Linked DNA regions of Homo sapiens: region 1 is linked to region 2. Evidence: promoter capture Hi-C in 16 types of primary human blood cells and fetal thymus (Javierre and others, 2016). All regions are on one chromosome and are shown on one strand. Each heading gives the region's core, a stretch centred on a gene start or on the middle of the fragment in contact. The rest is flanking DNA. Distances are from core to core; before and after follow the strand shown. Region 1 overlaps KIDINS220 (kinase D interacting substrate 220). Region 2 holds the start of RRM2 (ribonucleotide reductase regulatory subunit M2).

The links. Contacts are between HindIII fragments. The CHiCAGO score rates a contact against its expected background, and 5 or more counts as called.
Region 1: a fragment that was not itself captured here is called in contact with the fragment with the promoter of RRM2 in region 2 in 1 of 17 cell types (fetal thymus); the score reaches 6.2 in fetal thymus.

Annotation. Positions count from the first base shown.
Region 1 is chr2:8,832,164-8,836,807 of GRCh38, reverse strand. The region is part of intron 1 of KIDINS220 (kinase D interacting substrate 220); the gene reads left to right. Among named protein-coding and RNA genes, the nearest start is that of KIDINS220, 3.1 kb to the left of the region's middle. The HindIII fragment of the contact is 2,900 bases long and covers 347-3,246 here.
Region 2 is chr2:10,120,578-10,125,278 of GRCh38, reverse strand. RRM2 (ribonucleotide reductase regulatory subunit M2) reads right to left here and starts at 2,540. Exons shown (of 10, transcript NM_001034.4): 1 at 2,382-2,540; 2 at 2,222-2,296; 3 at 1,749-1,892; 4 at 1,427-1,543; 5 at 429-562. The coding sequence starts at 2,480. RefSeq lists silencers at 2,579-3,079, 2,486-3,085 and enhancers at 3,306-3,415, 3,436-3,505, 3,263-3,818, 3,867-4,701. The HindIII fragment of the contact is 3,317 bases long and covers 592-3,908 here.

The sequences.
Region 1 (4,644 bases), core at 547-3,046, 1.3 Mb after region 2:
AAAAATGTAGATTTCTTAGCGTTTTAGAGATTCCCATTCCTTCGGCCTGAGGTGTGGCTCGGGAATCACCCCTTCAGGTTCGTTCCTGTCCACATTTTGACAACACTGAGGACCAGACATCTACACCTTTTTAAACCACCGTGGGGTATTGAGTGCAGAGCCCAGGTTGGGAAATGCCGTGGCCAGGTGTGTTCTTTGTTCTCTTCTAGCTTTACTAGCATGGACTACTTTCATCAGAATCATTTTGGGGTGCTTGTTAAAATGTCAGTTTCTGGGCACCACCCCAGATCTAGGGAATGGGATTCTCCCGGGGAGGAGCTCAAGGGATATGTGTATTTGACAAGCTTCCCAAATAATTTTGGTGCACACAAGTTTGAGAATCCTTGTTCTACACCCTTTGTGTGAATAATTTCCAGATCATTCACACACAGTGTGAACGGTATCTTTTTCCAAGTATTGGGTGGGTTTCTCCAACCTAGTTCTTTTGGGACACTTCAAATTCAGCCTGGCCAAAGCCCCATTCGCCCAGCTGGGGTGGTGGAAGGGAGGAGGCATAACTTAAGTAGAGAAAAGTCTGCTCTTTCTCCTGCTTTTTTTTTTTTGGTTAAGGGCAGCTCCATTCTTCAGTCACCTATGCTGGGCATCTGGTCATCTTCCACCTGTTTTCTTTTCCAACCAGTCACATAGTTTTATCTTTATATCCAGAATATCTCTTCTGGATATTTTGGTAGTTCAGAAAGTTCAAATGTCAGGGATTTTATATTTTTCAAGTTAATATCCCTCATTTCTTCTCTATTCCCACTGCCTCTCTTGTGTACTGTCTGGTGATTCCTTGACTGGTATCTAGGGCCCTGATTCTTTGTATTTTTCCAGTCTGGGTCACATACACTGCCAGATTAATTTTTATAGGATCATGTATGAATGTGCCATCCCCTTCTTCCTGCTTTTGCTCAAGAACGGTCAGTTTCTCCATTTTATGTGCTACTGTATTTGTCAGGGCTGTTTAGAAGACAGTAGAAACTTAAACCTTTTACTTCAAGGAAAAGGAGATAATAGGATTGAATGAGAGTCAGAAAGAAGTCAGGATCCCAGGTACCTCCATTTTCTACATCTCCCTGGGGCAACTTTTTTTTTTTTTTTTTTTTTTTGAGACAGGGTCTGGCTCTGTTGCCCAGGCTGGAGTGCAGGTGGTGTGATCTTGGCTCACTGCAGCCCTGACCTCCTCTTAGGGGCCACATTTGTTCTCTTACTTAGGAGGAGTCTCTTTTCTGTTCATATCTGTTGTATTCTCTCTTTGCTGATTGGCTGTCTCAGAACTGTATCATTTTATGTGTGACCCATATTGATTGGCCCAGTCTCTGGTTTCTAATTCCCAGTTCTAGAGAGAGAAGTCTGATTGGCCCAGCTTATCTTTTTCAACAGTTTCATGCCACAGATCATATGCCCATCCCTGGGAATGGCTGATGCTAGAGAACATGGCTGTTGAGGGTAGCAGGGGCTGTGGGTGGGCAAAGTCCTTCAGAAGAGGTATCTTTAGCATACCTATGCAGTTATTTAATTTGATGGTTATCTATTAAGTTTCTACCTGTTCTAGATCTGTAATAGGTTCTGGGGATGTAAGAATGAAGGAGAGAGACAGCCCTTAATAAATTAGTTCAAGGCTGGGCATGCAGGCTCACACCTGTAATCTCAGTGCTTTGGGAGGCTAAGGCAGGAGGATCACTTCAGGCTAGGAGTTCAAGAGCAGCCTCGGCAATATAGCAAGTCCTGTCTCTACAAAAATTAAAAATGTAAACAATGATCTGGGTGTGTTGGCATGCACCTGTAGTCCCAGCTATTCAGGGAGGGTGAGGCAGGAGGATCGCTTGAGTCCAGGAGTTTGAGTCTGCAGTGAGCTATGAATGTGCCACTGCACTCCATCCTGGGCAATAGAGCCAGACCCTGTCTCAATAAAAATAAATAACTAAATACATACATACATACATACATATACATACATAAGTTAGTTTATAGGTGACCCGCGAGGGGGGTTTTGAAGGGTGTGTTTTGGCTTGTTAAGAATGTTAAAGTTGGGTCAGGCATTACAGGTGGTTGGATCAGCTTGGGCATGTCCATTCATTCTACCGATACTGGGTTCTGTGGTGTACCAGGCACTTCTCTTAAGTGCTGGAGATTCAGCAGTAAACAAAACAGATAGTCTTTATTCTCATTGAGCTACATTTGTTTGGCTAGGGGAAGCAGACCAAAAACAAAGTATGTGGTATGTGGAGTGATGCTAGGTGTTATAAAGAAGACCTTTAAAGTAGGGCTGTGGAAGGGGGATATAGTAGAGGGGGAGAGGGCTGTTTTATACACGTATAAATGGTATACACCATTTATACACGGTGGTCAGAGAAGCTCTGATCAGGTGACGTATGTACAGAAAGTCACTGTGGCCTGAGTAGAGTCAAGGAGAAGGAGCAGCAAGAGTTGAGCTTAGGGAGGTGGAGAAGGGGTGGAATAGATCAAGCAAGGCCTTGGCCCTGGTAGGGATCTGGGATTTTGAGTGAGAGGACAACCGTTGGGATGTTTTGAGCACAGAATGGTTGTAAGAAGACACGATTCAGGAGGACCACTTAGGCCTCTGTGTGGAGGGGGCAAGCGCTGCCACCCAGGCCCAGGAATGTCAGCACCAGGGTAGGCTCTGGGGACTGCACAGGGGTGATTGTTGCTGGAGACTTAAGTGGGAGGAGGAGAAGAGGGGCTGGAGATAGAGAACCATGGGAGGGGCCACATTCAGGAACTTACTGTGTCGTATCTGGAGGATAAGAAATAAGTAAGCCTTGGGCAGCATGGCACTATTGTTGCTTTCATGCACTGTGTCTGTAACCGGAGAAAAGTTATAGGGTGCGTCTATTAACCGATTGGCCTTTTGGTGAAAGCATTTTGAATACATTTAGAGATTTTGCCTATTAAATTGGCAAGTTCTAAAAATGGACTTACTACAACATAAATTTTTTGTTCTGACATTGCTGTTGGCTACATCTGCCATTTTCAAAACGGGTGGCAAGACATTAATTTTTTTGCTAATTGTGCAAAAGAATGTATAGCCTTATATTCCCATTAGAGAGAAAGTGCTGTGGACATTAGATTCAACTGATGTCCATTTATTCAAGAAATATAGTGTCTTGTATGGGCCAGCTATTAAGCTAAGTGTTGGGTATTTGGTATAGAACGAAAGAAAATAATTCATTCCTTTTAAAAGCTTATATCCTAGTGGGAGAGACAGCTATTAATCAGGTAAATATGTCCCATTCCAGCAGGTGTAGCTAAAAAAAAAAAAAAAAAAGACAAATTTAAAAAACATAAATATGTAAATTACAAGTTTAGTAAAGTGTTATGAAGGAATAAAAAAGATTCCATAATAGAGAACAATCCAGGTTATGAGAATCAACCAAGAAAGGGTGGTTAAGAAATGATCATATTCTGTTATTATGTAAAACAGCTAATATTTATTGGCTTCATATGGGTTAGGTATTATTTTAATCCCATTGCATGTAATTGTGCAGTTATTTGAAGATGGGGAAACTCAGACACTGAGGTGAAGAAACTACCCCAGGGGACAGGGAGTGATAAAGAGAGGCTGGTTAATAAGTACAGACATACAGTTAGGTAGAAGGAGTAAGCTGTAGTGTTCAGCAGCATGGTACTATGCTTAACAGTTTATTGTGTATTTTATTTTTTATGGTATATTTTAAAGTAGCTAGAAGATAAGATTTGAGATGTTCCCAGCACCAAGAAATGAGAAAAGTTTGAGGTGATGGATATCCTAAATACTCTGATTTGATCATCACACATCCTATGCATGTAATCCAAATATTACACATACCCCATAAACATGTACAATTATTATGTATTAGTTAAAAAAATTAAGGAAAAAAAAAAGAAACTAGCCTGGGATGATATAATGGTCAGTAGTAAAGTCAGGAGTCAAACCAAGGTAGTCTGGCTCTAGGGTCCATACTTTTGACCACTAGACAGCTTCGTTTTAAGCCGAAAGGGCTTTTGGAAGTGAACGTTGAACTGAAATGTGAAAGATGAGAAGCTGTAGTTTTCCTCCTGTGATGAAACATTTTTTTTTCTATTGAAAATGAACGTAGACTTAATACATCAAGTAAAACAATATAGCACAAAGACGCGTGAAGGCAAAGCTAATCATCTCCTCCTTTTAGTCCTACATGGTAAGATAACGAATTTTACAGCCAGGTGTGTGTCCTTCCACACTTTTCTTTTTGTTCATGTGTACACACTGGATAGATACATATATGGGGGTCTTATTTATTTTATCAAGTAGAATTATACTACACACGTGCTCTTAAACATGACAGCGTGTCATTGGTTTTACTATTGTGTGTATCAACAGATGTGGATTTAATGTTCTAATTTTATTTTGTAATTTCTAGGCACTTATATATGTGCTTACAAACATCTTATGACATTTAATAATCAATTATTCAGTGAAATTTATTAAACACTGTCAGTGCCCTCTAGTCAAAGACTGCCAGGAACATACCTCTAGTTGAACAAAGTTGGTCTTATTAACTCCCTGCAATGAAGGAGAATGCCTGTCCTAGGGAACGTTGGGGGTCTCTGTAACAGGTTGTT
Region 2 (4,701 bases), core at 1,291-3,790:
CTCTGCCTTATGTAACTCCTACTAAGTCTTATTTGCCTATACTATACTGCAGGCTTCTTAGGAGGCAAGTCCTCCCCGTCCATCCCACTGCAGCCCCACATTCTAGCTTCTCAACAACTTTACCAAATGAGCAAAGATGGTCAGACATAGGTTTTAGTTTGTCTTACCCAACATCTAGGAATTTTTTCAAAAGAAGGTTTTACATTGGTAGACATCCAACTTTAAAAGGAGTACCTTCACAACTCTAAGTGAATAATAAAGTGCATTTAGGCCCCTTGCTAAGAGCAGACATGACCACGGGTGCTGGGAATGCCTATGACTGTCTTAGTCATTCTGGAGTCATTTTTATCCCTAGGTGAACTAAAAATGTGTAATAAATCAACAATTAGTGAGTCCTAAAAATCTTGGCATACCACTTGAATACTCACCTTTCTTTGGGATCTTTTATGTAAGTGTCAATAAGAAGACTATACATTTCAGAATGTATGTTTTCCATGGCAATTTGGAAGCCATAGAAACAGCGGGCTTCTGTAATCTGAACTTCTTGGCTAAATCGCTCCACCTAGTGGCAAAACACATCAAAGTTAAGCTTGAGAAAAAACCAACAGCAGCAACTGTCAACGGATACTGGCAGCATCGCACTCTTTGTACCATTATAAGGTTTATTTCTATATATATTTCATCCAATTTGTCACAATTCTTTGATATTTTATGTCATATGCTCAACTTACATATCAGGAAATAGATACATATAAAATAGGATTTGTGAGCGCTCGATTTCCTAATTAATTTATGTCAAGAAAGATCCATTCGCAATAAGAGATACAACCAAATTATTATTAAAACAGCAAAGCCACAAAAAGGAGGGAGCAGAGCCGGGCGTGGTGGCTCACGCCTGTAATCCCAACACTTTGGGAGGCCAAGGTGGGTGGATCACCTGAGGTCAGCAGTTCGAGACCAGCCTGGCCAACATGGTAAAACCCTGTCTCTACTAAAAATACAGATATTAGCTAGGCATGGTGGCGCACGTCTGTAATCCCAGGTACTCATGAGGCTGAGGTTGGGGAATCGCTTGAACCCAGGAGGCGGAGGTTGCAGTGAGCCAAGATCACACCACTGCACTCCAGCCTGGGCCAGAGTGAGACTCTGTCTCAAAAAAAAAAAAAAAAAGAGGGGGCAGATGTGGTGGCCACAAAGAGTCATCACATTGCTACCACTTAATATTGTCTCAGCTTCTCTAGAGTCGGGAAAATACCATAAGAAAGAACTGCAAAGTGTTACAAAACAGGAAATGCCATGTAATATAAAACCCAGCTTACACACACAGATGCACTCAGCATGGAAAAACATACAAGACGAGGAAAGCGAACTAGTTCGACCTCAGATCGTCAACGTCAAATGAATGAAAGATGTTTTGGAAACTCACCAAGTTTTCATTTACTATGCCATCGCTTGCTGCAAAGAAAGCCAGAACATGGGATATAAAATATCTCTCCTCGGGTTTCAGGGATTCCCAGTGCTGAATGTCCTTGGAGAGGTCCACCTGAGGTTCGGAAGTCACAATTTTAGCATAAAAGGAAGAGAGTAAAGCCTACAGGACTCACACTGAGCACTCAAACTTTAAGTATGCTGGCACCACTTACTATGCCCCACAGTTAGCCCCCCTTGCCAACGGGAACCTCCAAGTGCATTTATGTCTGAGGCGTGACGGTCACCCCTGCAGGGGTCTTCTGGGGTCCTCCGATTACCTCCTCGGCGGTCCAAAAGGAAGCCTCTGCCTTCTTATACATCTGCCAGATATCATGGTACTCGATGGGGAAGATGACAAAGCGGCGGGGGTTTTCTCTCAGCAGCGGCTCATCCTCCACGCCGGGGGCAGCTGCTTTAGTTTTCTGTTGGGGGAGAAAATAAAACATTTAAGTACCGGGCGAACCATATGAAACTAACGTTTTTCTGGACCAAGTCCTTTCCATTGGCGGCAATTTCACGGGGCCCGATGTGAAAACGTGGCTGTCCCGTCGCACTCCGTGGGTCGCAGCAGAGGAGCGCACGCCCGAACCGGGAAATGGGCCGAGGGGCGCGGGAGGCAGCCCTGGGGAGGGGCCGCCTAGGCGGGAAAGGAGCCGGGGCGGGAGTGTGAACAGCTGAGGAAACAATGCGGCTTTGGCGCCAAGACGCCCAAGGCCGTCCCTGGCCCCTCTGCCCCACGCCCGCCACTCACCGGCTCCGTGGGCTCCTGGAAGATCCTCCTCGCGGTCTTGCTGGCCAGGACGCGGGTCCCGCTCAGGGCCGGCGGCTGCGGGGAGACGCGTGTGAGTGAGGAGCGGCTTCGCTTTCCCTGCCTCCCTCCCCTGCCCGCAGCGCCCTCCCCGCGGGCTCACCGTGTTCTCCTTGTCGACCAAGCTGAGCCCCTTCAGCGGCGAGAGCTGCAGCTGCTGCGGGTCCGTGATGGGCGCGAGCGGGACACGGAGGGAGAGCATAGTGGAGGCGCAGCGAAGCAGAGCGAGCAGCCAGGACAGGACGGCTGGGACAGGGTGCACGGGCGACCCCTCACTCCAGCAGCCTTTAAATCTCCCGCGCCGCGCGCTCCCGGCCCTTCCCATTGGCTTTGGTGCCCCGGCCCTTCCCATTGGCTGTGCCATGCCTCCGACCCTTCCCATTGGCTGCGCCTTGCCCCTACCCAGGCTGGCCGCGGGGCCGCGCGCGATTTTCAAGCGCAGCGCGGGAGCCTCCGCCGGCGCCTTCCGGAGACCCCCGGGGACACCCCCGTGGACGCCCCCCGGGACCTCCCGGTTCCCCCCCCGGCCCGTCCGCTGGCTGGGTCGGGGGCGCCGCCGCCCAGGCCCCCACAGGTCCCGCGGGACCAGGGCCGCAGCCCCTGAGGGTCTCGGCGGCCTTGGCGCGCGCGGGCCCCGGTTCGCCCGGGAACCGTTTAGGATTGCGTGAGGAGCAGCGATTGGAGCCCGCGGGCGCGAGAGGATCCCCGGGCCGCGGCCCCGCCTCCCGAAAGCACCTCCTCCCAGCCGGGCCGCCGCCGGGCAGGGGGCTTAGCCAACGAGGTTGGTGCAAAGGCCTGGAAAACGCTCCTGGGTGCGGGGGAGGCGTTGCTGCGACCCTTTCGATCCGTGTCCCTGCGGTGGGGGTGCAAGGGCCCCGAGGCCTGACATTTTGGCGGGGTGGTCGGCGAGGACCCTACAGCCTAAAAGTTAGGGCCGCTGAGCCCCGTGGCTCGTTTTGCTGGGACAAGCGACCAGGCTTCTTACAGATTCGGTGTCCCCGTGAGTAAAATGGGACTCGTAACCGCGTGGACTGTTAATGCGGTGAGGAGAGCGTTCGTTGAGATGACTCATGTAAAATGTGCAGTCCTTTGTAAACCTTCAAACTACGGGACATGGCGAGAAGGCCCTTGGTGCAGTTTTCCACAGAAATCCTGTCTCCTGTCAGACCCCTGACCCCTATTGTCACCCTTGCCTTAAGAATTGCAAACTGTGGCTGGGCGCGGTGGCTCACGCCTGTAATCCCAGCACTTTGGGAGGCCAAGGCAGGAGGATTGTTTGAGGCCAGGAGCTGGAGACCATCCTGGGCAACATAGTGAGACCCCGCCTCTGCCATTAAAAAGAGAAGAAAAAAAGTTGTTTTAATTGCAAACTGAGCAAAAATTCCTGGGAGAAAGTTCACAGAATGATTTTAGGACTAGGAATTAATGTACTACTCATTGGGCGTCAAATATGCTGAAGAGGAGTTTGAAAACTCCACTGGTGTAGAGACTGGAACTTAGCAATAGCTTTCATTTAATTTTCTATGTGGCTTTCTGATTTGCCAGGCCCTGCAACGGGCAAAATGCCAAAAATAAAGGAAGAGAAAGAAACTTTAAGATCCAAGAAAGAAATCATTAACCTGAGAAAGCTTCAACAGCTGCGCTCAGGGCTGTTATTGAGAGAGACCCGGGACTTTTTTTTTCACAAAGCCTTTTCTAGATAAGATACTTTAAAGAGGGTGGGGTGGGACAGGTACCCTCCCCACCTAGGTCTGTTTCTCTCATTTCTTAAAAGTACTACGGACTTGTAAATCATAGTATTCTCGTGTTGCAGGAATAAGTGCCCATCACATTCCTTACACAAAGCCACAACTAAAACTTTGGTGTACCATGATTTGTTTAAAGCAACTCGCCATTCATCGCCATTTTCACCCCAAACACACTAAAGCATCCATCTCCAGGAAACTGGTATTTTTATTGATTACTTTATGGCTGATAAAGCTATTATCTAACAAAATTATAATTTATTGGTGTCATCTCATACTCAACTCAGATTTCAATTTCCCATAATCAGCGTCTAAAACCCTCGTTTCGGTTGCCCTAGGGCGCCACGTGCTTTTTTGCTCCTGTTAAACTCACTGTAACTGAAGTAGTCAGAGGTGGCTTCATTGATAGTTTAGTTCCTGGCCACGTAATTAACATAGCCATTGTAGAAGACGCCGAAAGATGCGTACGTGTTGTTAAAGGCCGGGTGAAGTCGCCATCCTCCCCTCCCGCGCTAAACCTGAGTCATCTCGGCGTGGCCCTCCTGCCCCCAGGTCCGGCAACTTTGCCCCGCTGCGGAGGAGGTGGCGGCGCCCAGGGCCACGCGGCAATGCGGGCGGTTCCGCCTCCGGGGAGGTCGGGCGGTGCAGCCACTCCCGGGAGAGCGCCCGCCGCAGGCT